Regions from separate parts of the Homo sapiens genome. Here all the other regions are linked to region 5. Evidence: promoter capture Hi-C in 16 types of primary human blood cells and fetal thymus (Javierre and others, 2016). All regions are on one chromosome and are shown on one strand. The core of a region is centred on a gene start or on the middle of the fragment in contact, and the rest is flanking DNA. Distances in the headings are between cores, read along the strand shown.

Region 1 (3,610 bases), core at 181-2,680, 410 kb after region 5:
AGTCTTGCTATGTTGTCCAGACTGGCTGAACTCCTGGGCTCAAGCAATCCTCCTGCCTTGGCCTCCCAAAGTGCTGGGATTACAGGTGTGAGCCACCCTGTCTTGCCAATTCTTAAAAATTTTATCTGTGCATTTGTGTTTTGCAAGTAAAGAATGATGGCAGGGCTGGGCACCATGGCTCACGCCTATAATCCCAACGCTTTGGGAGGCTGAGGCGGGCAGATCATCTGAGGCCAGGAGTTTGAGACCAGTTTGGCCAACACAGCAAAACCCCATCTCTACTAAAAATGCAAAAAAAATTAGCCGGGCATGGTGGCAGGCATCTGTAATCCCAGCTACTTGGGAGGCTGAGGCAGGAGAATCGCTTGAACCTGGGAGGTGGAGGTTGCAGTGAGCCGAGATCGTGCCACTTTACTCCAGCCTAGGTGACAGAGTGAGACTCCGTCAAAAAAAAAAAGTCATGGGAGAAGGGAGATGCACTGGGGGTTTGGAGCCTTAGCTCAGCAGCAGCCCCACCTCCCACCGCCTCCTGAAGGGTGGTGAAGGGGTATCAGCTGCTGGCTCCCCCACCCATGTGGGAGCAATGACCGCTGCTACCTTCCGCCCCTGGCATGAGCTGGGTAAAGTCAGTTAGGGGCGCTCACTCTGGGAGTACCCCGAGGGAGTGGGACACTACATAGCAAATAAAAAACGTCAGGACAGGTTGAGGAAGAGAGCAGAAGAAAGGTAAGAGCCCCCCAACCCCAAGAGACCCCACAGTTTTATTTCAAATTGGGACCCACAAATTATGAACCTGCCCCCACTTCCAGGAGCTCACATTCTCCTGTCCCAGAGAGTTCAAGTCACAATGTGACACAGGTGTCACCAAGGTCTGGGGGGCGCAGGCAGGGAGAGAGCAGACCCAGGAGGGTTCCATGGAGGAAGTGGTGCTGGCAGTGAGCCCCAGTGGACAGGAAGGCTCAGTTGGTCACGAGGAGCTATAAGAGGTCACCGAGCTCCAACCGCGCACCCCTCTCCCTTCCTCATGTGACTGGCAGTCTGGGGGGATGGAAGCAAGCACCAGGCACCAGGCTTTTGTTTTTCTTTATTTGGAAATGTGGTCAACTGAGGTGCACAAATCTGAAAGACCCAATCTGATAAAGGATACACATGTGCGTGCCTGGGTGAGCCCCACCTAGGTCAGCTGCTCCAGTGTCAAATCCCACAGGCACAGGGCTGCCGTGGACCCCTTCTCATCACCCAACATCCCCAGAGAACCCCTGGTCAGACTTCTGTCACCATCAGTTTTTTGGGCCACATTTTAAAAAAAGAATACATTGGCTGAGTGCAGTGGCTCATGCCTATAATCCTAGAACTTTGGGAGGCTGAGGCGGGTGGATCACCTAAGGTCAAGAGTTCAAGACCAGCCTGACCAATATGGTGAAACCCTGTCTCTACTAAAAAATACAAAAATTAGCCTGGCGTGATGGCAGGTGCCTGTAATCCCAGCTAGCTGGGTGACTGAAATAGGAGATTTGCTTGAACCTGGGAGGTGGAGGTTGCAGTGAGCTGAGATCACGCCATTGCACTCCAACCTGGGTGACAGAGTGAAACTCTGTCTCAAAAAACATATGGGTTGATGGGTTACACTAAAGTTTTGCTCATCGTTTGTATCAGCAGGTTCCAAACTGCTACCTCTCTAGCCAATGCTCAGATTTTCTTCACAAAGCCTTAGGCATCCCCTGAATCATGATGCACAGGGATTGTAGCTTTCTGTAAAGGAGCGGCACCTAGAAGGAACCCTCACATGGCCATTTAATGAAGCCTTGCTTGGCGCATTAAAATACACCAGTATCTGTCTGCTTTTCTCACAGACAGGAGATTGTGGGTAGTGAGAAAACATTTCCAAAATTAAAAAACTTTCCCACTCAGGGAGTTTTGCAAATAAACCCTTGACTCTACATAACTATAGATATAGTTATGGATCCTAGTACACTGCTTTACATTGGCCAATTGAAATTGCTTATACAATATTTAAATTGGTCCAATGAATTACAGAATCAACTATTTGTTTTGAAAGCACATGTCTTCAGGAAATTGTTCCAATTAACTTGAGATGATCTTATTTCTTGGGTGGTTCAAAATAATGGCAACTCAGAAACGCAATGTGCTTACCCATGATTGGGAAATGCCATTTTGGTCTTTAAATAGGTTTTTTTTTTTTTTTTTTTTTTTTTTTTTGGTGAATGTTAAAAAGAAATTTCTAAACATAAATACACACATACGTACTTATGCACACTCAAAACCAAATAAACCCCAGCATGGCCCCTGGGCATCTGTGAGTTACACTTGGGCCCTGATTTCTGAATATTCTGCCAAGTGGCAAATGCCAGGAATTTCCCCCACAGAGTCTCGCTTCCCCATGGAGGGACACTTCCTCACCCCCAAGTGCCCGCTGCTCCCACCCCTCCTGTGGCTGCAGTGACATGGCCATGGTTGTGTCTCCAGACTCGTGGTGGGAGCACCCCTGGAGGTGGTGGCGGCCAACCAGACGGGACGGCTGTATGACTGCGCAGCTGCCACCGGCATGTGCCAGCCCATCCCGCTGCACAGTGAGTGACCACCTGGGAATTGGGCCCCTCAACCCTCCTGGACCCAACTGTGCCCCCGCTTAGCTTCCAGTCCAGACCTTCCCCGCAAATGAGTGTGTGCTGTGAGTGAGACCCCGCGTGTCTGCCCTTGCAGTCCGCCCTGAGGCCGTGAACATGTCCTTGGGCCTGACCCTGGCAGCCTCCACCAACGGCTCCCGGCTCCTGGTGAGTGAGTGTCTTGGGCCACGGGGGGGTGGGGTGGGGCGGGGGGTGTTGTTGGGGAGGAGGCTGGGGCTGGGAGTGAAGGAGGAGGGGCTGCTAGGGACTCCTGGCTCACAGGCTTCTGCCTCCAGGCCTGTGGCCCGACCCTGCACAGAGTCTGTGGGGAGAACTCATACTCAAAGGGTTCCTGCCTCCTGCTGGGCTCGCGCTGGGAGATCATCCAGACAGTCCCCGACGCCACGCCAGGTAGGTCCCTGGCAGGCCATGGTTCCCTGTGGAGCACATGCTGGCACTGAGGGTGAGCAGGCGTGAGGCCTGTGTCTGGGCCCCTGTGCCCTCCCTGGAGGGCCGAGTGTGGCTAGGAGAGAAGCCAGGAGAAGAGGGTGGCTCAGGCAGGAGCCCTGCTGCTCCAGGGTAGAAGTTCTTTGCAGGGTTTTTCTTTATATTTTTTTCTTTTTAAGACAGGGTCCCTGCCAGGCACAGTGGCTCAGGCCTGTAATTCCAGCATTTTAGGAGGCTGAGGTGGGCGGATCACCTGAGGTCAGGAGTTCGAGACCAGCCTGGCCAATGTGGTGAAACCCCTCTACTAAAAATACAAAACAAAACAAAACAAAATAGCAGGATGTGGTGGTGTGCGCCTGTAATCCCAGCCACTCGGGAGGCAGAGACAGAAGAATCGCTTGAACCCAGGAGGCGGAGGTTGCAGTGAGCTGAGATTGTGCCATTGCACTCCAGCCTGGGTGACAAGAGCAAAACTCCATCTCAAAAAAAAAAAAAAAACAAAAAACAGAGTTTCTGTCAGGCTGCATGCACCACCA
Region 2 (4,077 bases), core at 367-2,866, 360 kb after region 5:
ATAGCTCACTGCATACTTGATCTCCCAGGCTCAAGGGATCCTCCTGCTTCAGCCTCCTGAGTGGTTGGGACTACAGGCCCACATTACTGTGCTAGCCTAATTATTTATTTATTTTTTTGAGACGGAGTCTTGCTCTGTCATCCAGGCTGGAGTGCAATGGCACGATCTCAGCTCACTGCAACCTCCGCCTCCTGGGTTCAAGCAATTCTCCTTCCTCAGCTTCCTGAGTAGCTGGGATTATAGGCACCCGCTACCACGCCTGGCTAATTTTTGTATTTTTAGTAGAGACGGGGTTTCACCATGTTGGTCAGGCTGGTCTTGAACTCCTGACCTCGTGATTTGCCCACCTCAGCCTCCCAAAGTGCTGGCATTGCAGGTGTGAGCCACCGTGCCCAGCCAGTACTAGCCTAATTTTTAAATTTTTGTAAAGTCAGGGTCTTGCTGTGTTGCCCAGGCTGGTCTTGAGCTCCTGAGCTCAAGTGATCCTCCTGCTTCTGCCTCCCAAAGTGCTGGGATTACAGGCATGAGCCACCGCACCTGGCATACTTCACATTTTCTAGAGTCCAAGAGACTGAATATACAAAGGGATAGTGGTCAGACTAGACATAAAAATAGACATCTGCCCCCCAGCCTGCAGCAACCAGCCCAGGAAGCCTATCAATAACTAACAATCAGCCCCATGTCCAGGACTTAATCAATAACTGATGGCTTCCCTAATTTTTGTCCCTACTTCCAACTTAGGACCAACCAGACAAAGCCAAATATGTCCCCTAGTCAATTGCACAGGATGCCCGCTTCCAGTGAGCCACATACAGCTTCCCAGGCCAGCAGCTTCTACTTGGGGCATCCCTGAAGACTTCCCAGTTTCCACTACAAAGCTTTCCTACTGTACTGCCCATTTTTGAGTCTCTGCCAAAACACCAGTGATGGCCACTGACTCCCTTGCTAGAGCCAGCTTTGAATAAATAGACTTCGCCTGTTCTCATTTGGTTGGTCTTTGTGTCTTTCCGCAATCCTCTGGTCCAGCTACTGTGATAAATAGATCAATAGAGCAATTTCCTTTCTGCTTCCTCTGTGGGCATTCCCATCTTGGCGCAGACTTGAACAATTGCTAAAATCCTTCCCCTTATCTGCCCCCTATGCCCCACTGCCATTAAAGGATAAGATCCCTCTGCAGGCTGGGCTGAGTGAATGTGAACGGAATGCATTGGTTGCCAAGTTCTGCCATATACGCATTTGCCTGTTGAGACCAATCCTGCTACCATGCCAGGGCCAGGAGAGAGAAGCTGAGTGGGATGACCCTGCCTTACTCCTCCTCTTTGGAATTCTCCCTCTCTTAATTCACACAGGCATCTCCAGCCCAGCCCCTCCCAGGCACGGCCCCACTGGTTCAAGTTCTCACAGAGACCCTGGATTTCTGCCCTGTTCTGTTCTCTCACCCCACCTTCCTAGGGATTCTCTCACTCCCTCCTTTTACCCTAAAAAGGGATTAAGATGAAATCATTCTGTGGTCACTAGATGTTGTCTGTGCCTGAGACTGAGCGTGGATCCGTTTCAGAGGCCTGCTGGGTTCCCCTACACATGGAAATAAAGAAAAATCTTGAGTTTCTTCAAGGAGAATTCCAGGCACCTTGCTAATCTGGAGAAGTATATGAGCAGCCCGGTAAGCAAGAAGATAACAGTCACTTCAAACAATAGCCAAGGAAGTGAGAGCCACAAGATGTGTGGTTCCCCAGAAAACCAAGGGTTTTAACGTACATCCCTGAGTTGTTTTTCAGAAACCTGGACCCCCACTGTATTAGTCCGTTCTTGCATTGCTACAAAGAACTTCCTGAGACCGGGTAATTTATAAAGAAAGGAGATTTAATTGGCTAATGGTTCCTCAGGCATTATAAGAAGCATGGATGGGGAGGCCTCAGGAAACTTACAGTCATGGTGGAAGGCGAAGAGGAAGGAGTCATGTCTTACACGGCTGGAGAAGGAAAGAAGACAGACCAGGGCGAGGTGCTACACACTTTTAAACAACCAGATCTTGTGATGACTCACTCACTATCACGAGAACAGCAAGGGAGAAATCCGCACCCATGGTCCAATCACCTCCCACCAGGCCCCTCCTCCAACACTGCAGATTATAATCCAACATGAGATTTGAGTGGGGACACAAATCCAAACCATATCACCCCCAGATGGAAAATGCCATCTGCTGGTATGTAGGCCACTGATAAGGAGGAAGTGAAGACTGAACTCTGATCACTATTCTTTGCTCTAAATTTCTTCCTGAGGGCCCTGGAGAGACAGTCACTCCCATAGGCCAGACCTTAATATTCCTTCCTGCTGACCCCAAGTTTTTAGATGAAGCTTTCCTTCCTTAACCAATTGCAAATCAAAGAATCTTTGAACCCATGTATGACTTGTAAGCCTTGCTTCAAGATATCCTGGCTTTTTAGGCCAAACTAATGTATAACCTCCAGGTATTGGTTTATGATTTTGCCTGTAACTTCTGCTTTCCTGAAATGTACCTCGCCCTTAAAAACTCTTGCTTGGAGGGTTAACATTGGGTTAACACCAATTTCTCAGTTGCTGTGTTGATGCTCAAGGCTCACAAGTGCCCCCAATCTCTGGGGAATGGTCTTGCCTGCAGGGGAGTAGCCCCTTCTTCTGTGTGGCAGTGGGATAAGCTAGAGGAAGTGGGGAAGAATGGCTGGTGGTCAATGACTGACCCACCCGGGGAGAACCAAGGGCCACACTTCAGCCTCAAGGAAGGACCCATTCATGCTCACAGCTTCCGGGGACCAGGCTGGAGTCAGGGTCAGGGGAGAGCTCCTTGTCACTTAGCCTCTTTCCCCACTCTATCCTGCTTTCTTCTCCTTGTCTCTCCAATGATGGGCATTGGACACTGAGCAGATACAACCAGGGGTCAGTTCCTGTCTGTGGGTGTAGGACGGATGGGTGATGGGAGGGTGGATGGGTTTGTGTGTGGACAAGTGGACGGATGGAAGGATGGGGTGGAGGGTGGATGGGCAGATGGGTGGGTGGATGGGTGAACAGGTGGATGGGTGGGTGGAGGGAAGCCTCCACCTTCAAATGGAAGCCTTCAAATGGAAGGTGTGGGTGTTGTCACCAACACTGCAAACCCAAGCCCCCTTCTGTGACCACCTCTTTTCTATAATCTTTCCTCTTCTCTCCCTTCTTCCCCAGTTTCTCAGTGACTTGTCTTCACTTCCCCTTTTCTCCTGTGTGTCTATTTCACTGAATTTAAATACAAATTAAATCCATATTCTTCTCATTCTGGTGAAATCGCTTGCCAGTGTGGGAGTCTGAGCAGGGACAGCCCTCATTTCTCCCGGGGCTTTGCCAGCAGGAGCTCCTTCCTCCCTCTTCCCTTTGCTCATGACCCAGCATTTCCCTGTCTGCCAGGGATGCGTTGCCCACATTCCCCAACTTCTCATTGATTTCCTCTGCTTGACTTGTTTCCTGTTGCCTGTTACTCAAGTTAAATCCTTGTTTTATTCTAAATTTACACCAATTCAAGTTAGTTTACCTCTTAGGCGACTCTTGCTTTGCTCCAGGCGGCTTCTGATTCATGCAATTATTGAGCAGGTCTGCAGGTGAGGGGGCTGAGCATTTGGTCCATTTGCTTCAAACCTGTGCAGTCTCTTCTTCACCCACCCATCTACCCATCCACTTACCACCCCATCATTCCATCCATTCACCTGTTCACCCACCCATCTACCCATTTACCCATCCACGCACCACTGCATCCTTCCGCCTATCCACCTGTTCACCCACCCACCCACCCATCTACCCTTCCACCCATCCACTTGTTCACCCACCCATCTACCGATCCACCCACCACCCCATCCTTCCACCCATCCACCTGTTCACCCACCCACCCACCCACCCACACATTTGCCCATCCACCCTCCACCCCATCCTTTCATCCATCCACCTGTCCACACACAAACCTATCCACCCTCCTGTCACCCATCCATCCTACACCCACAGACAGGAACTGACCCCTGGTTGTATCTGCTCGGTGTCCAATGCCCATTGTTAGAGAGACAAGGAGAAGTGAGA
Region 3 (3,817 bases), core at 809-3,308, 390 kb after region 5:
ATGTTATTATGGCTGGGAGTGGTGGCTCACGCCTGTAATCCCAGGACTTCGGGAGGTTGAGGCAGGCGGATCACCGGAGGTCAGGAGTTTGAGACCAGCCTGGCCAACATGGTGAAACCCCATCTCTACGAAAAATACAAAAATTAGCTGGGTGTGGTGGCAGGTGCCTGTGATCCCAGCTACTGGGGAGGCCGAGGTGAGAGAACTGCTTGAACCCGGAAGACGGAGGTTGCAGTGAGCTGAGATTGTGCCACTGCACTCCAGCCTGCACAACAGAGCAAGACTCTGTCTAAAAAAAAAAAGTTATTATGAAAAATTTAAAACATTTACAAAAGTAGAAAGTAGTTCAACAAACCTCCCCAAAACTTGTCACCTAGATTCAACAATTAGCAGCATTTTGCCACATTTGTTTCATCAATTTTTCCCCTTTGCTAAGGTATTTTCTTTATTTCTTTATTTTTGAGACAGGGTTTTGCTCTGTCACACAGGCTGGAGTGCAGTGGCACAATTTCAGCTTACTGTAGCCTTGACCTCCTGGGCTCAAGCGATCCTCCCATCTCAGCCTCCTGAGTAGCTAGAACCACATGCACACACCACCACACCTGGCTAATTTTTTAATTTTTTTTGTAGAGTTGGGGTCTTACCATGCTGCCCAAACTGGTCTCTAACCCCTGGGTTCAAGCAGTCCTCCTATCTTAGCTTCCCAAAGTGTTGGAGTTACAGACATGAGCCACTGTGCCTGACCTGCTAAAGTATTTTAAAACAAATCTCAGACATGGGGGTCATTGTACTCCTCCTTATTCACTCTGCTATGGTTTGAATGCATCACCCAATGTTCGTGTGTTGGACACTTAATCCCCAATGCAACAGTGTTGAAAGGTGAAACCTTTTAAAGGTGATTAGGTTATGAGGGCTTTGCCCTCATGAATGGATGAATACTATTATCTCAAGAGTAGATTAGTTATTTCAGGAGTGGGTTTCCTTCCTTCCTTTCTTCTTTCTTTTTCTTTCTTTCTTTTCCTTCTTTCTTTCTTTCCTTGAGAGGGTCTTGCTCTGTTGCCCAGGCTAGGGTGCAGTGGCACGATCTTGGCTCACTGCAGCCTCTGCCTCCCGAATTCAAGCAATTCTTGTGCCTCAGCCTCCTGAGTAGCTGGGATTACAGGTGCCCACTGCCACGCCCAGCTAAGTTTTGCATTTTTAGTAGAGATGGGGTTTCACCATGTTGGGCAGTCTGGTCTTGAACTCCTGACCTCAAATGATCCACCCGATTCGGCCTCCCAAAGTACTAGGATTACAGGCGTAAGCCACGGAGCCTAGCCCAGGAGTGGGTTTCTAATTAAAGGATGAGTTTGGCCCCCTTTCCCTCTCACTCTCACATGCACTGCCTTGCACATGCAGCACAAAGGCCCTCACCAGATGCTGGTGCCATGTTCTTGGACTTCCCAGCCTCCAGAACCACAAAGCTTCTATTGATACATTACCTAGTTTGCGGTAATCTGTTATAGCAGCAGGGAACAGACAAAGACACACTCTATAGTTCTGAACAATGAGGACCTCTTATATGACCTCAACACCATTATCACACCCAATGAAATAAGTGATTCCTTGGTATTAAGATCATAGTCAAAATTGTGTAACTGTCTCAAAAATATCTTTTTACTTCTGGTCTATTTGAACGAAAATTCGAACTAGGTCCATACATGATGGTTGGTTGTTATTTCTGCTGTCTCTCTTAGTCTAATATTCCCAGCGGAAGCGCATTTTGATTAACGTATAAAAGAACACAGCAGGAAAGGCCATCTCTTGCATGTGAGGGGTGATCACTGTCAATGAAAGTGCTCCTAGACATATCAACCAAATGTAATGGGTGGACCTTTGCTGAATATTGATTTTAACAAATGAGCTGTAAAATAACATTTTTGGAGACAATCTAAGAAAATAGAACATGACCAGTATATTGGTATATTAAGGAGTAATTGTTAATTTTGTTGGCTGTGATTTGTTGGTTCTTGTGGTTACATTTAAAATACCCTTATCTATTGGTGGTATACACTGAAGTATTTCTAGATGAAACAATATGGTGTTTGGAATGTGCTTTAAAGTGTTCAGAAAGAGAACATAGCAGAAACAAGAGTAGAAAAATGTTGGTTACTTAAAATGAGTGATGGTTATATGGGGTTGATTTTCCAGTCTCTCTATTTTTTAATGTGTTTTAAATTTTCCATTATAAGAGGCCTTTAAAATAACAATAAAAAGGTGAACATTTTAATACATTTGAGATTTCTACTTTGGAAGAAAGTTTGACCAGATAGCTATGGGGGAGCTTTTAAAAACGTAACCTTGGCTGGACATGGTGGCTCATACCTGTAATCCTAGTGTTTTGGGGGGACAAGATGGGAGGATTGCTTGAGGCCAGGAGTTCAAGACCAGCCTGGGCAATATAGCGAGGTCCCATTTATAAAAAAATTTTTTTAAAATTAGCCAGGCATGGTGGTGGTGTGTGCCTGTAGTCCTAGCTACTCAGGAGGCTGAGGCAAGAGGATGGCTTGAGGCCAGAGTTTGAGGCTGCAGTGAGCTGTGATTGCATCACTGCTTTCTAGCCTGGGTGACAGAGTGAGACCTGGTCTCAAAAAACAAACAAACAAACAAAAACATAAGCTTAAGGTGGGCTCCAGGAAGCTTTATCACTACTTCGTGGCGTGTCTTTGGAATGCTGTTATATTAGGTTGGTGCAAAAGTAATTGGGTTTTTGCCATTGCTTTCAATTTCAACTAATACTCCTCTACTTTTTCTCATGCCTAGAAACAAGGGCAGCTGCGTTCCCTGCACCTGACATGTGACAGCGCCCCAGTTGGGAGCCAGGGCACCTGGAGCACCAGCTGCAGAATCAACCACCTCATCTTCCGTGGCGGCGCCCAGGTCAGCCTGGCTTCTGTCCCCTCACTGCTCCCCTGCCCCACCCTGTCTTTACTGCTCTGTGACCTCTCAGTTCCTTTTCCTCAGATCACCTTCTTGGCTACCTTTGACGTCTCCCCCAAGGCTGTCCTGGGAGACCGGCTGCTTCTGACAGCCAATGTGAGCAGGTGAGCCGGGCCAGGCCAGGGGCAGTGCCCCTCATCTCCAGCCTCACACCCCATTCTCCTCCTCTGGGGCCTCTGGCAACTGAGTCTCTCCTCTTTCTCCAGTGAGAACAACACTCCCAGGACCAGCAAGACCACCTTCCAGCTGGAGCTCCCGGTGAAGTATGCTGTCTACACTGTGGTTAGCAGGTCAGCAGGTACCCCACTGCAGGAAAAAGGGTTCTTCTCTCTGACCTCAAAAAGAAAAAAAAAAAAAGGCCTTGAAACGCTGCCACAGAGGGTGAGATAAGGTGTTTGAAACTAAAAGGTCAGGTGTTTCAGCAGACACCTTCCTTCAGCCAATGCCTTCCTCGAATTTGCTGTGTGCCAGGCAGGGTGCTGTGGTTATTTTCCATACATTCATTTGACATTCATTGAAGATTTACTGAGCCCCCATTATGTGTGATCAAAACCAGACATGAACCCTCGCCCTTGTGGGGTGTGCCTTGCTGGATGTTCTCCTGTGCCTGGTGTTTCCCACTCTCACCTGCACCTGCATGCGTGGAGGCTCCCAGCCAGGTGCACGCTCTGAGCTCGTGTGCTGGGGTGTGCCCCAGGCTCTCATACCCCTTGGCAGGGGACCCACAGGCAGGGCTCACCTACTCTAGGCATGTGTGGTCCACAGCTTGGCCACACATGGCAGGTGTGATCCACAGCTTGGCCACACATGGCAGGTGTGACTCTGTGGGTTAGGGCAC
Region 4 (3,658 bases), core at 148-2,647, 330 kb after region 5:
TTTTTTAATTTAATTTTATTTTAGATGGAGTCTCTCTCTATTGCCCAGGCTGGAGTGCAGTGGCACGATCTCAGCTCACTGCAACCTCCACCTCCCGGGTCCCAGCGATTCTCCTGCCTCAGCCTCCCAAGTAGCTGGGATTACAGGCCTCCGCCACCATGCCTGGCTACTTTTTTGTATATTTAATAGAGACGGGGTTTCACCATGTTGGCCAGGCTGGTCTTGAACTCCTGATCTAAGGTAATCCACCCGCCTCAGTCTCCTAAAGTGCTGGGATTACAGGCGTGAGCCACTGCACCCGGCCCAGCACTTTTGATTTTTGTATTTGGTTTGAGATAAAGGCTCAGTTTCATTCTTTTGCCTGTGGATATCCAGTGTTCTTAACACCATTTGTTAAAAAGACTGTCCTTTCCCCATTGTATGCCCTTGGCACCTTTGTTGAAAATTAGTTGATTGTTGGCCGGGCGCGGTGGCTCATGCCTGTAATCTCAGCACTTTGGAAGGCTGAGGCGGGTGGATCATGAGGTCAGGAAATCGAGACCGTCATGGCTAACAAGGTGAAACCCCGTCTCTACTAAAAATACAAAAAATTAGCCGGGCGCGGTGGCGGGCGCCTGTAGTCCCAGCTACTCGGGAGGCTGAGGCAGGAGAATGGCGTGAACCCGGGAAGCAGAGCTTGCAGTGAGTCGAGATTGCGCCACTGCAGTCCGCAGTCCGGCCTGGGCGACAGAGCGAGACTCCGTCTCAAAAAAAAAAAAAAAAAAAAAAAAAAAAAAAAAAAAAATTAGCCAGGCATGGTGGTGGGCACCTGTAGTTCCAGCTACTCGGGAGGCTGAGGCAGGAGAATGGGGGAACCTGGGAGGAAGAGGTTGCAGTGAGCCTACATCATGCCACTGCACTCCAGCCTGGGTAACAGAGCAAGACTCCGTCTGGAAAAAAAAAAAAAAGAAAAGAAAATTAGTTGATTGTAAATGCATGGGTTCATTTCTGAGCTCTGTATTCTGTTCCATTGGTCAATGTCTCTGTTTTTATGTCAGTGTCATGCTGTTTTGCTGAGTATACCTTTGTGGTGTATTTTGATGTCAGGTAGTGTGATACCTCTACCTTTGTTGTTTATGCTCAAGATTGTCTTGGATATTTGAGGTCTTTTGTGACTTCATATTAATTTTAGTATTGTTTTTTCTATTTCTGTAAGAAATGCCATTGGGATTTTGGTAGGAATTACATTGACTCTATCGATCACTTTGAATAGTATGGACCTTTAAAAATATTCTTTCAATCCATAATATGGGATATCTTTCCATTGATTTTTGTCTTAACTTTCTTTCGTCAATGTTTTATAGTTTTAGTGTGCATATTTTTCACCTTCTTGGTTAAATTAACTTGTAAGCATTTTATTTTTTGATGCCATTGTAAATAGGATTAATTTCTTTTTCAGATAGTTTGTTGTTAGTGTATAGAAACAAATAATTTTTGTATGTTCATTTTGTATTCCATGACTTTACTAAATTTGTTTATTAAATTTGATAACTTTTTCGTAGAGTATTTATAACAAGTTTCTTATATATAAGATCATGTCAATTGCAAACAGGGACAATTTTTTTTTCTTTATTTCTAACTTGAATGCATTTCTTATCTTTTTCTTGCCCAATTGCTCTGGCTAGGACTTTCAGTACTGTGTTGAAATAGAAGTGGTGAGTGTGGGCATCCTTGCCTTGTTCCTAATTTTAGTGGTAAAATCAAATTTTCACCACTGGGTATGATGTTAACTAGACACTTTTTTTAATGTTCTTTATCATGTTGATGTAATTTCCCTGTATTTCTAGTTTGTTGAGGGTTTTTAATCATGAGTGGCTATTCCTGTGGCCTGAATGTTTGTGTCCTCCCCAGATTCATATGTTGAAGCCTAATTCCTTGTGTGATGGTATTTGTAGATGGGACCTTTGGAAGGTGTTTAGGTCATGAGAGTGTGGCCATCATTAATAGGATTAGTGCCCTTAGACAAAAGCAAAATGATGGTTGCCTATGAACCAGAAAATAGGCTCTCACCAGATATTGAATCTGCTTGCACCTTGATTTTGGATGTCACAAGTCTTCAGAACTATGAGAAATAAATTTCTATTGCTTATAACCCATCCAGTCTATGTTATTTGTTATACCAAATAAGCTAAGACAGATGTTTAGTTTTATTAAATGCTTTCTTTTCTTATTGATAAGATCATGTTATTTTTATTCCTTATTCTGTTAATGTGGTGCATCACATTTATTGATTTGCATATGTTGAGCCATCCTTGCATGCCAGGAATAAAGCCCACATGGTCATGGCGTATGACCCTTTTGTGCTATTGAATTCAGTTTGCTAGTATTTTATTTAGGATTTTGGATCTATGTTCAATAGGGAAATTGGCATGTAGTGATCTTTTCTCATGGTGTGTTTGTTGGGATTTAGTGTCAGGATAGTGCTTGCCTCATACAATAAGTTTGGAAGTATTCCCTCCTCTTCAGTTTTTTGGATGAGTTTGAGAAGAATTCATATTAATTCTTATTTAAATGTTTGGTTGGTAGAATTTGCCTGAGAAGCCACCAGGTCCTGGGCTTTTCTTTGTTAGGAGGTCTTTGATTACTGATTCAATTTCCTTACTCATTATAGATCTGTTTAAACTTTCTATTGCCTTATGATTCAGGCTTGGTAGGTTGTATATTTCTAGGAATTTATCCATTCCTTCAAGGTTATCAAGTTTGTTAACATATAATTGTTCATAGTAGTCTCTTAATGATCCTTTTTATTGCTATGGCATCAGTTGTATGTTCTTTCATTTATAATTTTACTTATCTGTTGTTTCTGTTTTTTCTCCCTTTTTCCTTGGTCTACCTAAAAGCTTGTCAGTTCTTTTTTTTTTTTTTTTTGAGATGGAGTCTCACTCTGTTGCCCAGGCTGGAGTGCAGTGGCATGATCACAGCTCACTGCATTCTCCACCTCCCAGGTTCAAGTGATTCTCCTGCCTCAGGCTCCTGAGTAGCTGGCATTACAAGCACGTGCCACCACACCTGGCTGATTTTCGTATTTTTAGTAGAGACAGGGTTTCACCATGATGGCCAGGCTGGTTTTGAACTCCTCATCTCAGGTGATCCACTTGCCTCGACATCCCAAAGTGCTGGGATTGCAGGCGTGAGCCACTGCACCTGGCCAAAGCTTGTCAATTCTATCTTTTTGAAAAATCAACTTAATTTCATTGATTTTTTTCTATTCTCTATTTGATTTATTTTTCTGTAATCTTTATTATTTTCTTCCTTCTACTAACTTTAGGTTTAGTTTGTTCTTTTATTTCTCATTTCTTGAGGTGTAAAGTTAGGTTTTGTAATTGAAATTTGTCTTTTTGTTTTAAAATTAGGTGTTTATCCCGAACTTTCCTTTAGTACTGCTTTTGCTGCCTCCCATTAAGTTTGGTATATTGTGTTTTTGTTTTCATTTATCTCATGTTATTTTCTAATTTATTTTTTTATCCATTAGTTGTTCAATGGTGTATTGTTTAATTTTTACATATGTATGTTTTTTTCCAGTTTTTCTTCTGGTATTGTTTTTAGTTTCATTCCATTGTGGTTGGAAAAGATTCTTGATATAATTTAAATCATTTCAAATTTGTTAAGACTTGTTTTG
Region 5 (4,012 bases), core at 1,513-4,012:
GAGCCAAGATCGCGCCATTGCACTCCAGCCTGGGCGACAGAGCAAGACTCCGTCTCAAAAAAAAAAAAAAGAAAAGAAAAAACAGGGTCAGTGGCAGCGACGTGTGGCTGGAGGGAACAGAGAGCCCAGACCGCACGGGCTTGGGAGCCTGTGAATCCACTTGGGCCTGTGGTGAGAGAGGAGGAAAGTCCCGGAGCTTTCTTCAGGAGAGGGTCCTTCCGCAGGAGAGGGTCCTTCCGCAGGAGAGGGCCCCATGGCTAGTGAGCTCCATGTCTAGGCTGACACCAGTATCCAGGCAAAGGCAAGGGTGGCCCGACCCAAGCAGTGGCAGCAGAGGTGACAGAGAGGAGGCTTTGGGTGCAAGGTGGTTGGCTGGGCTCAGCAGTGAGAGGGTGAGGGGGACGGGAGGCCCTCTCTCGGTGCTGCTCTTAGCTGCTGGGAGTATGATGGGAGGGCCAGTGAGATGGGTGTGAGGAGGAAGAACAAATATATGGTCAAGATGAGCTCCAGTCTGGACATGTGGGGTTGCAATGCCCCAGGGACATCTAGGGGATGACGCCCAGCAGCTCCACTGAGGTGGCTTTTGGCTGGAAATGGAAGTTTGGGAGGAGTCCCCACCACATAGCTGGCGGCTGAGGCTCTGGAAGGGAGTGAGGTCACCCGAGGAGGGCGTGCAGAGGCTCCTCACTGTCTTCTGGGAAGTAAGGGTTGCTCCTCACACGGAGGTGCGGGGCCTGACATGGGCGGCCTGCCATTTGCATTAGCCGGTGGCAGCCAACAGGTGCCTGTTTTGGAGAGAGGTCCAGGGAGGAGAGATGAGCAGGGTGCCGTTGGTGACATGGCCAGTCATTTCAGGAGCTGCCCCAACCCCAGACTTGCCCCAGCAGTCCGGGACCCCACTGTGACCAGGCAGATGCTCGAAGGAGTCAGTGGCTCTCTTACCCAGTGCAGATTTCCCTGGAGTTCCCTGCGGGTGACTTAGAATGGCCACCAGAGGCTTAGGATGCTGCCCCAAAGAGGGAGGGCTCCTGGAAGCAGAGTCGAGAGAGTCAGTGCCGGGTTAGCGGGAGCTGGAGGCAGAGCTGCAGCTCCAGGCCTGGTGGGCGTGGACCTGGGGTGCTGGCTGGCAGGCGTGCTCAGGGGCAGGAAGTGGGGGACTCTTCCCTGACCATCGCATCTCACCCTGGCAGATGGTGGCCGACATGCGGGAGAAGCGCTACGTGCAGGAGGGCATTGGCAGCAGCTACCTGTTCCGGGTGGACCACGACACCATCATCGATGCCACCAAGTGTGGCAACCTGGCCAGATTCATCAACCACTGCTGCACGGTGCGCCAGGGGCCAGCCGGGGCAGGAGTTGGGGGTCGGTGGGGGTGGCCACGGCTCACACGCCCTTCCATCCGCAGCCTAACTGCTACGCCAAGGTCATCACCATCGAGTCCCAGAAGAAGATCGTGATCTACTCCAAGCAGCCCATTGGCGTGGACGAGGAGATCACCTACGACTACAAGTTCCCACTGGAAGACAACAAGATCCCGTGTCTGTGTGGCACAGAGAGCTGCCGGGGCTCCCTAAACTGAGGTGGGGCAGGATGGGTGCCCACACCCCTATTTATTCCCCCTGGTGCCCTGAGCTCCCAGCACCCCCCCAGCCTTAGTGGGCTCAGCAGGGCCCACATGCCCCCATCTCCAAGCGTGGGGTTGGGGGCCCCAAGCCCAGCGAGGGAGCCTCAGTCCCTGGAGGCAGCTTCTGCCTCTCCTGTCACCCCTGCCCACCACCCCCTGATTGTTTTTCTTTGCGGAGAAGAAGCTGTAAATGTTTTGTAGCAGCCAGCAGCTGTTTCCTGTGGAAACCTGGGGTGCCGGCCTGTACAGATTCTGTCCTGGGGGGCTACACAGTCCTCTTGCTTTGTGTTAATGGGGACTTCCCCTTACGCCCTGCGTGTACCCCTCCCCAGTTTAGGGGTCTCTGGGGCAGTGGCCATGTTCTCCCCCTGGGGGGGCTCTGCACCCCCAGTCCTGGGGACTCCGTGCCTGGAACCCTGCCTCATCTGTTCCTGCCAGACCCTGAGGGTCACCCTTCCACCCTGGTGTCACTCCCCGGCTCAGCCAGGCCAGGATGGCGGGGTGGGTCCCTTTTGCTGGGCTGGACTGTACATATGTTAATAGCGCAAACCCGACGCCACATTTTTATAATTGTGATTAAACTTTATTGTACAAAAGTGTTTGGTCGGTGTATTTGGGCAGGAGCGAGGGGTTGGGGGTAGAGGGCACGGAGGGTTGTGCAAGTTGAAGAGAGGGAAAAGTGGGTACCTGAAGTGTGGGGCAGGTAAAGGGGCCTTCAGGCAAGAGCCCAGACCTGCAGAGACAGTCCGAGACTGTCTCGGACCCCCTGACAGGCTGCAGCAGCCGCACCCGCACCAGGAATACCCCACCAGTGCCCGCCAGGGTGGTGCCAAGGTCAGGCCTCCCCTTCCTACAATCACAGCTGCAGCTGGACCTCCGGCCTCCTGGGAAGCCCAGCAGGAGGGAAGGCCTGAGGTCACACTGTGGGATGAGGTCACCGCTGGCTCCACCCACAGCCCCAGACCCCTTCAGCCCACTCTGCAAGTTCGAGCTTCATCCCCACCAAGTTCTCCGCTGGACCCAGATGCCAGTGGAGCACAGAGCGGCCGCCAGGGGGCGCCTTGGGGCAAGAGTGGTGGGGGTTGTGGCTGGGCGGGTCTCTGTTCCTGGAATGGGGCAGGAGGGAGAAGGAGGAGCCAGCGGAAGGACGGTGTGCGGGCCGGCCAGCCCTGGACGAAAGAAGAGGGCCCCTCCAGGCCAGTCTGGGCACCCTGGGATAGCGGCTGCAGGTAGGCAGAGGCGCTGCCAGTGCCCAGGTGGCCTTTCCCTCCATCCGGCCCTTCCCACCTTCCTATAACCTTCCCTCCACCTCCCTCAACTCCTGGCCTCCCCACCCTTTTACTGCCTTCAAATCTCTCTCCCTAAACCCTGACCCCTTCCTGCACCCCAAGCCCGCCCCTCTCTCCGTAACTCAGCCATCAGCAGGGGCAGACGGCAGGTGGCCTGGTTGCTGCAGCTCCCAGGATCAGCTCTGCCCTCCCCGCAAACGCCAGCCTCGTCACCGCTCCAGGGCACCTCCAGCAGTAACAGGTGGTTGCAGCAGGTGGCAGCCAGCCCCTGGATGAGCCAAGGTCTCTTCCCCAGCCAGGCATGGCCGACTCTGCACAGGCCCAGAAGCTGGTGTACCTGGTCACAGGGGGCTGTGGCTTCCTGGGAGAGCACGTGGTGCGAATGCTGCTGCAGCGGGAGCCCCGGCTCGGGGAGCTGCGGGTCTTTGACCAACACCTGGGTCCCTGGCTGGAGGAGCTGAAGACAGGTTCTTGTTGGGGGAGCTTGTGGTGGAGAGGGTGTGGACGCTTCCCCAACCCTTCCCAAGCTGGGATCCCCACCCCTGCAGTGGAACAGATGATGCTGGTTTCTGTCCACATGGATGGGTCGAGTGAGTCACATTGGGAACGTGACTCCAGGGTGGAAGATGAACCCAGCCTCTGGCCTCTGGCCCCAGCTCTGACATGGCCTGTGTCCTCCAACCCCGGCCAGGGCCTGTGAGGGTGACTGCCATCCAGGGGGACGTGACCCAGGCCCATGAGGTGGCAGCAGCTGTGGCCGGAGCCCATGTGGTCATCCACACGGCTGGGCTGGTAGACGTGTTTGGCAGGGCCAGTCCCAAGACCATCCATGAGGTCAACGTGCAGGGTGAGGAGCTCTGGACACTCCTGGCCATCTTGCCTGTTTGTTCCCCACTCTGTCTTTGGCCTTGACCTCCGGTGACTCCCCTGGGACAAGTTGTCCTATTGACAGCCCTGCCCCCGCCTCCCCTGACCTGTCATGGTTTTCCCTGGACCTGGGATGGGGAGGAGGAAGATGCAGAGAGGGAAGAAGCTGCAGCTTGGATACGCCTCCTCCTCTGCCAGGTACCCGGAACGTGATCGAGGCTTGTGTGCAGAC
Region 6 (3,626 bases), core at 563-3,062, 310 kb after region 5:
TCTATAAATTGCTTTGGGAAGTGTGTCCATTTTAATGATATTGATTCTTCCTATCCATGAGCATGAGATGTTTTACCATTTTTTTGGTGTCATCTCTGATTTCTTTGAACAGTGTTTTACAATTCTCACTGTACAGATCTTTCAACTCTCTGGTTAGCTGTATTCCTAGTTATTTTATTCTTTTTGTGGCAATCGTGAATAGGATTGCCTTCCTGATTTGGCTCCCAGCTCTTGTTGGTGTATAGGAGTGCTAGTGATTTTTGTACATTGATTTCGTATCCTGAAACTTTGTTGAAGTTATTTATCAGCTGAAGGAGCTCCTAGGCCAAGACTATGGGGTTTTCTAAATATAGAATCATGTTGTCTGCAAACAGGGATAGTTTGACTTTTTTACTTCCTTTCTTCCTATTTGTATGCCCTTTTTTCTTTCTTTTGCCTGATTGCTCTGGCTAGAACTTCCAATAATATGTTGAATAGGACTAGTGAGCAAAGGCATCCTTGTTTTGTGCTGGCTTTCAAGGGGAATGCTTTTGCCCATCAAGTATGATGTTGGCTGTGGGTTTGTTGTAGATGGCTCTTATTATTTTGAGGTATGTTCCTTCAATACCTAGTTTATTGAGAATTTTTAACATAAAGGGGTGTTGACTTTTATTAAAGCCTTCTCTTCATCTATTGAGATAATCATGTGGTTTTTGTCTTTAGTTCTGTTTATGTGATGAATCATATTTATTGATTTGCATATGTTGAACCAACTTTGCACCCCGGGAATGAAGCCTACCTGATCATGGTGGATTAGATTTTTGATGTGCTGCTGGATTTGGTTTGCAGGTAGTGTGTTGAGGATTTTTGCATTAGTGTTCATCAAGAATATTGGCCTGAAATTTTCTTTTTTTGTTAAGCTGACACTTTTTAGTTTGATGCCACCCCATTTGTCTGGTTTGCTTTTGTTGCCTGTGCTTTTGGGGTCATATCCAAAAAATCATTTCTCAGAAGCTTGATTGTCAAGAAGCTTTTCCCTTTGTTTTCTTCTAGTAGTTTTACAGTTTCAGGTCTTGTGTTTAAGTCTTTAATCCATTTTGAGTTGATTTTGTATATGGTTTGGGATAAAGGTCTAATTTAATCCTTTTGAATATGAATATCCAGTTCTCCCCACACCATTTGTTGAAGAGAATGTCCTTTCTCCTTTGCATATTCTTGGCACCTTTATTGAAGATCAATTGACCATAAATGCATAGTTTTATTTCTAGCCTCCCTGTTCTGTTCCATTGGTTGATGTGTCTGTTTTTATGCCACCACCTTGCTGTTATGCTTACTAGAGCTTTCTTGACACAGTATGTTTTGAGATCAGGAATTATGATGCCTCCAGTATTTTTTTTCTTGAGGATTGCTTTGGCTATTTAGGGTCTTCTGTGGTTCTACATAAATTTTAGTTTTTTTTCTATTTTTGTAAAAAAATGCCATTGGGATTTTGATAAGGATTGTACTGAATCAGAAGATTGCATTAATACTCCAGTCCATGAACATAGGATATCTTTCCATTTATTTTTGTCTTGTTTAACTTCCTTAATCAATGTTTTATAGTTTTAGTGTACATGTTTTTCACCTCTCTGGTTAAATTTAAGCTTAGGTATTTTTTTTGATGCTATTGTAAATGAGATTGTTTCTTGATTTCTTTTTCAGATAGTTCATTGTTAGTGTATAGAAGCACTATTGATTTTTCACATTGATTTTGTAACCTGTAACTTTACTGAATTTATTCATTAGTTCTAGTAGTTCTTTTTTGGTGGAGTTTTTAGGGTTTTTTAAAAATATATTTATATATATATGTTTTTATATATATATCATTTTAAGTGTAAACAGAGACAAATTTCCTTTTTTATATCTGATTTGGGTCTCTTTCATTTATTTTTCTTGCCTAATTGCTGTGACCAGGACTTCCAGTACTATGTTACATAGAAGTAGTGAGAGTGAGCATTCTTGCCTTTTTCCTCATTTTAGTGGTAAAGCTTTCAATTTTTCACCATTGAGTATGATGTTTGTTGTGGGCTTGTCGTATATGGCCTTTATCATATTGAGGTACATTCCTTCTGTAGCGAATTTATTGAGAGTTTTTATTATAAAAGAATGTTGAATTTTGTCAAATGCTTTTTTTTGCGTATATTGAGATGATCATGTGGTTTTAGTCCTTCATTCTGTTAATGTGATATGCCACATTAATTGATTTGCATATGTGGAATCATCCTTGCATCTCGCATCCCAGGGATAAATCACACTTGATCATGGTTATTATCTTTTTATCTTTTTTTTTTTTTTTTTTAACAGAGTCTCTCTGTGTTGCCCAGGCTGGAGTGCAGTGGCGTTATCTCGGCTCACTGCAAGCTCCACCTCCCAGGTTCACGCCATTCTCCTGCCTCAGCCTCTTGAGTAGCTGGGACTATAGGCGCCCGCCACCATGCCCTGCTAATTTTTTTTTTTTTGTATTTTTAGTAGAGATGGGGTTTCACCATGATTTCCAGGTTGGTCTCGAACTCCTGACCTCAGGTGATCCACACGCCCTGGCCTCCCAAAATGCTGGGATTACAGGCATGAGCCACTGCATCTGGCCGGTTATATGACTTTATATGTTTGTCAAAACTCATAAAACTATGTACTAAAAGGCTGAATTTTATTGTATGTAAACTCTTCCCCAATAAATCTGACCTAAAAAACAATCAAATTCTGTTGACTTTAGGATAAAGTATTCAGTTATCAATGAGTCTTCCCTCAATGGTGTATGAGGCAGAAATCACGTTGCAGAGCCGTGGCATGATGTCCCCTGCACATTCCCTTTCTAGAACTTGTCCCAGTTTGAAATTGCTATACACATCTCCCTGTTAATCCATTGATTACTCTCCTCTCCTCCACCTGGCTGCACTGAGGGCCCTGGAAGGCACTGTATCTCTATTACCCAGCTGTGTGCTTAGCAATAAGAAACACTTGTTTGTTGAATGAATGAATAAATGAATGAATGAATGTATGATTAAATAGGTGAATTTTATGGATGAATTCTACATATTGACCTTGAAGATATTTCTTAATATCACAACAAATATTCAAATAACAAATAGTTATTTTTAATCTAAGCCAGTTATTAGCCTTATTAGTCAGAGTGCCAACTTTGACTTTTTACCTCCCTAAAGATTCCCAATATATTGAAAGGGTGGTATTCTGTCTTCTCTTCTAGAATTTTCTATGTATTTTCCAACCCAAATTCTTCTTTGCTGCCTTAATAATCTCCCAGGAATACCACCTGGAGTAAATCCTCACTCACTGCCCATTGACTCTACTATAGGCTTATTTTTTATCTTTTAAATTATTAAAAAATATATATATACACTTAGAGATTGGGATCTTGCTCTGTTGCCCAAGCTGGAGTGCAGTGGTGACAAAGCTCACTGCAGCCTTAAACTCCTTGGCTCAAGGGATCCTCCCACTTCAGCCCCCCGAGGAGCTGGGATTACAGGCAGAAACCATTCTGCCAGGCTTATTATATAGGTTCCTTTAGCTGGCAGCACATTCAAGTGATAATTTATCATGAACCATATAGAAGATCACATCTGCTCCAGAGGGATTCCCCCAGCAGGCAT
Region 7 (3,908 bases), core at 511-3,010, 460 kb after region 5:
CTCAATAAAAAATTATACAATAGGCAGGGCGAGGTAGTTCCCTCCTATAATCCCAGCACTTTGGGAAGCCAAGGTGGGCGGATTACCTGAGGCAAGGAGTTCGAGACCAGCCCAGCCAACATGGCAGAACACTGTCTCTACTAAAAATACAAAAATTAGCTGGGCATAGTGACACACACCTCTAATCCCAGCTACTCGAGAGGCTGAGGCACAAGAATCCCTTGAACCTGGGAGGCAGAGGTTGCAGTGGGTTGCGATTGTGTCTCTGCACTCCAGCCTCAGTGACAGAGGGAGACTCTGTCTCAAAAAAAAAAAAATTAAAAATTAAAAAAATATATGTATATATACAAGGTAGATATTGAATATCTGCATGCAAAAGAATGAATTTGGATCCCTATATCACAATACATATAAAAGTTAACTCAAATTGAATCATAGAACTAAAAGTTAGGACTCTTAGAATCTTTATAACTTTGAATTAAGCAATGCTTTCTTAGATATGACACCAAAAGCACAAGCAACAAAAGAAAAAAATACAGAAACTGAACACCATCAAAATTGAAACCTCTTGCGCTTCATATGACATTATTCTTTAATTTTTTTCTTTTTCTTTCCAAATACCCAGACGTCAGGGAGATTCACAGGACATTATTAAGAAAAAGAGAAGATAAAAAAGAAAAGGAGAAGATAACCCACAGAGCAGGTAAAAATCTTTGCTAATCATATATCTGGGAAGGGATTTGTACCTAGACTGTATAAAGAACTATTGCAACTCAATGATAAAAAAGACAAATAATCCAATTTAAAAATGGAATTAGGCTGGGCACGGTGGCTCACGCCTGTAATCCCAGCACTTTGGGAGGCTGAGGTGGGCGGATCACCTGAGGTCAGGAGTTTGAGAACAGTCTGGACAACATGGTGAAACCCTGTCTCTACTAAAAGTACAAAAATTAGCCAGGCATGGTGGCATGTGCCTGTAATCCCAGCTACTCGGGAGGCTGAGACAGGAGAATCACTTGAACCCGGGAGGCAGAGGTCACAGTGAGAAGAGATCACGCCACTGCACTCCAGCCTAGGCGAGAGAGCAAGACTCAGTCTCAAAAAACAAAAAAAGGAAAGAAAGAAAGAAATCAGTCGAGTGTGGTGGCCTGCACCTCTAGTCCCAGCTACTCGGAAGGCTGAGAATCACTTGAACCATGGAGGTGGAGGCTGCAGTAAGCCGAAATTGTGCCACTGCACTCCTGGGCAACAGAGGAGTCCTTGTCTCAAGAAAAAGAAAGAAAAAGAAAAAAAATTAAATGGGCAAATGACTTGAATAGACAGTTCAAAGAAGTTATATAAATGGCCAATAATTACATGAAAAGATCCTCAACATCATTAGTCCTCAGAAAAATGCAAATCAAAACTACAACGAGGTGCCACATCATACATATTAGGATGGTGATAATAAAAAAGACAGGTAATTACGCCAGTAGTGGCGGCTCATGCCTGTAATCCCATCACTTTGAGAGGCTGAGGTGGGCGAATCACCTGGGCTCAGGAGTTCGAGACCAGCCTGGTGAACATGGTGAAACCTAGTCTGTACTAAAAACACACAAAAAATTAGCCAGGCATGGTGGCGGGTGCCTGTAGTCCCAGCTACTCAGGAGGCTGAGGCAGGAGAATCACTTGAACCTGGCAGGTGAAGGCTGAAGTGAGCTGAGATCACGCCACTGCACTCCAGCCTGGGAAACAGATGGAGACTCTATCTCAAATAATAATAACATTATTATTATTTTTAAAAATAATATTTAAAAAACATTAAAATTTTTTTTTTAAATAATATTTTTAAAAATGATATTTTTTAAATGATAATATTTACAGGCAGTGGCTCACACTTGTAATCCCAGCACTTTGGGAGGCCGAGGTGGGCGGATCACCTGAGCTCAGGAGTTTGAGACCAGCCTGGCCAACTTGGTGAAACCCTGTCTCTACTAAAAATACAAACATTTGCTGGGCGTGGTGACAGGCGCCTATAATCCCAGTCACTTGGGAGGCTGAGGCAGGAGAATCACTTGAACCTGGGAGGCGTAGGTTGCAGTGAGCTGAGATCACGCCACTGCACTCCAGCCTGGTGACAGAGTGAGATTCCGACTCAAAAAAAAAAAAGCTGAAAAGACAGTTAATTAACAAGTTTTTGTGAGAATGTGGAGAGATTGGAACCCTCACACATGGCTGGTTGGAACGTAAAATCATTCATTAACTTTGGAAAATGGTCTGGCAGTTCCTCAGATGTTTAAACATAGAGTTATATGATCCAGCAATTTCCCTTCTAGATATGTAACCAAAAGAAATAAAAGCATATTCCACAAAAACCTTGTACGTGAGTATTCATAGCAGCATTATTCATAATAGCCCGAGTGGAAACAACCCAAATGTCTGTCAACTGATGATTGAAGAAAGTGGCATATCCATGTCTTAGTCTGTTTTGTGCTGCATCGTAGAATGCCTAAGGCTGGATAATTTATAAAGAATAGAAATATCTTTCTTTCAGTTCTAGAGGTTGGGAAGTCGAAGGTCAAGGGCCCTGCATCTGGTGAGGGCCTTCTTTCTGCCTCATCCCACAGCAGAAAGCGGAAGGGCAAGACAGTGCAAGAGAGGGGGTGGGTGGGGGCAGAACCCATCCATTTATCTATCAGCTGTCCACTCCCTTGATAACTAACCTACTCATGCAATAATGCCATTAATCCATTCATGAGGGAAGAGCTCACATAACCTAATCACTTCTTAAAGTTCCCACCTCTCAACAGTTGAATTGGAGGTTAAGTTTCCAACACATGAACTTTAGGGGACAGGTTCAAACCACAGCAATCCATAAAGTGAAACTGTATTATTCCTAATAAAAAGAAATGAGATACTACAGTGTGGATGAACCTTGATAACATTATGCTATATGAAAGAAGCCAGACACGAATGACCACACATTGTATGATTCCATTTATATGACATGTCCAGAATAGGTCATCTGTAGAGATAAGATGTAGATTAGTGGTTGCCTAGGGTTGGGGTATAGGGGGTGTTATGGACTGAATGTTTGTATCGCCCCCAAATTTATACATTGTTTAACCCCCAGTGTGACTGTATTTGAAGACAGGGACTGGCTGGGCATGGTGCCTCACGCCTGTAATCCCTGAACTTTGGGAGGTCAAGGCAAGCAGATCACCTGAGGTCAGGAGTTCAAGACCAGCCTGGCCAACAAGGTGAAACACCGTCTCTACTAAAAATTCCAAAAAATTAGCCAGGTGTGGTGGCAGATGTCTGTAATCTCAGCTACTTGGGAGGCTGAGGCAGGCGAATGGCTTGAACCCAGGAGATGGATGTTGCAGTGAGCCGAGACCACGCCATTGCACTGCAGCCTGGGCAAAAGCAACGAAACTCCCTCTCAAAAAAAAAAAAAAAAAAAAAAGATAGGGCCTGTGAGGAGGTGACCTTAAATAAGGTAATCAAGATGAGGGACTTCCAAGAGGAGTGCTGGCAATTAAGAGAGCTGGGGCCAGGTGGGGTGGCTCACACATGTAATCCAGCACTTTGAGAGGCCAAGGTGGGAGGATCCCTCGAGCCTAGGAGTTCGAGACCAGCCTGGGCAACATAACAAGACCTTGCCTCTATTTATAAATTCAATTTATTATTATTTTTTTTAAAAAAGGGAGAGAACTGCGAGGAAATAAAAAGAGAAAGGGCCAAGGCCAGGTGCACTGGCTCACACCTGTAATCCCAGCACTTTGGGAGGCCGAGGCAGGCGGATCACGAGGTCAGGAGATCGAGACCATCCTGGCTAACACGGTGAAACCCCGTCTCTACTAAAAATACCAACAAAACAAAACAAAACAAAACAAAACAAAAAAAAACTAGCCTGGTATGGTGGCATG

What was found. The method cuts DNA at HindIII sites, captures the fragments that hold promoters and counts their contacts. A CHiCAGO score of 5 or more calls a contact.
Region 1: a contact is called between a fragment that was not itself captured here and the fragment with the promoter of HSD3B7 in region 5, in 3 of 17 cell types (neutrophils, monocytes and naive B cells). The highest score is 10.8, in neutrophils.
Region 2: a fragment that was not itself captured here is called in contact with the fragment with the promoter of HSD3B7 in region 5 in 8 of 17 cell types (total B cells, naive B cells, erythroblasts and 5 more); the score reaches 7.9 in total B cells.
Region 3: a contact is called between a fragment that was not itself captured here and the fragment with the promoter of HSD3B7 in region 5, in 10 of 17 cell types (naive CD8 T cells, naive B cells, monocytes and 7 more). The highest score is 12.5, in naive CD8 T cells.
Region 4: a contact is called between a fragment that was not itself captured here and the fragment with the promoter of HSD3B7 in region 5, in 2 of 17 cell types (monocytes and naive CD8 T cells). The highest score is 6.1, in monocytes.
Region 6: a fragment that was not itself captured here is called in contact with the fragment with the promoter of HSD3B7 in region 5 in 1 of 17 cell types (monocytes); the score reaches 5.2 in monocytes.
Region 7: a contact is called between a fragment that was not itself captured here and the fragment with the promoter of HSD3B7 in region 5, in 14 of 17 cell types (naive CD4 T cells, neutrophils, naive CD8 T cells and 11 more). The highest score is 12.2, in naive CD4 T cells.

The regions. Positions count from the first base shown.
Region 1 is chr16:31,394,872-31,398,481 of GRCh38, forward strand. ITGAD (integrin subunit alpha D) reads left to right here. Exons shown (of 30, transcript NM_005353.3): 3 at 2,488-2,591; 4 at 2,725-2,795; 5 at 2,924-3,038. Among named protein-coding and RNA genes, the nearest start is that of ITGAD, 3.3 kb to the left of the region's middle. The HindIII fragment of the contact is 5,767 bases long and covers 1-3,610 here.
Region 2 is chr16:31,345,516-31,349,592 of GRCh38, forward strand. No RefSeq gene overlaps it. Among named protein-coding and RNA genes, the nearest start is that of ITGAX, 7.6 kb to the right of the region's middle. The HindIII fragment of the contact is 1,480 bases long and covers 877-2,356 here.
Region 3 is chr16:31,373,997-31,377,813 of GRCh38, forward strand. ITGAX (integrin subunit alpha X) reads left to right here. Exons shown (of 30, transcript NM_000887.5): 21 at 2,803-2,919; 22 at 3,004-3,083; 23 at 3,186-3,269. Among named protein-coding and RNA genes, the nearest start is that of ITGAD, 17 kb to the right of the region's middle. The HindIII fragment of the contact is 1,195 bases long and covers 1,462-2,656 here.
Region 4 is chr16:31,315,455-31,319,112 of GRCh38, forward strand. The region is part of intron 14 of ITGAM (integrin subunit alpha M); the gene reads left to right. Among named protein-coding and RNA genes, the nearest start is that of ITGAX, 38 kb to the right of the region's middle. The HindIII fragment of the contact is 2,960 bases long and covers 1-2,877 here.
Region 5 is chr16:30,982,445-30,986,456 of GRCh38, forward strand. It overlaps HSD3B7 (hydroxy-delta-5-steroid dehydrogenase, 3 beta- and steroid delta-isomerase 7), which reads left to right and starts at 2,763. Exons shown (of 7, transcript NM_025193.4): 1 at 2,763-2,853; 2 at 3,209-3,380; 3 at 3,605-3,760; 4 at 3,979-4,012. The coding sequence starts at 3,215. It overlaps SETD1A (SET domain containing 1A, histone lysine methyltransferase), which reads left to right. Exons shown (of 19, transcript NM_014712.3): 18 at 1,191-1,328; 19 at 1,406-2,220. The coding sequence ends at 1,579. RefSeq lists an enhancer at 2,232-2,744. The HindIII fragment of the contact is 29,451 bases long and covers 1-4,012 here.
Region 6 is chr16:31,293,808-31,297,433 of GRCh38, forward strand. The region is part of intron 12 of ITGAM (integrin subunit alpha M); the gene reads left to right. Among named protein-coding and RNA genes, the nearest start is that of ITGAM, 36 kb to the left of the region's middle. The HindIII fragment of the contact is 384 bases long and covers 1,621-2,004 here.
Region 7 is chr16:31,446,572-31,450,479 of GRCh38, forward strand. No RefSeq gene overlaps it. Among named protein-coding and RNA genes, the nearest start is that of ZNF843, 5.7 kb to the left of the region's middle. The HindIII fragment of the contact is 6,267 bases long and covers 1-3,908 here.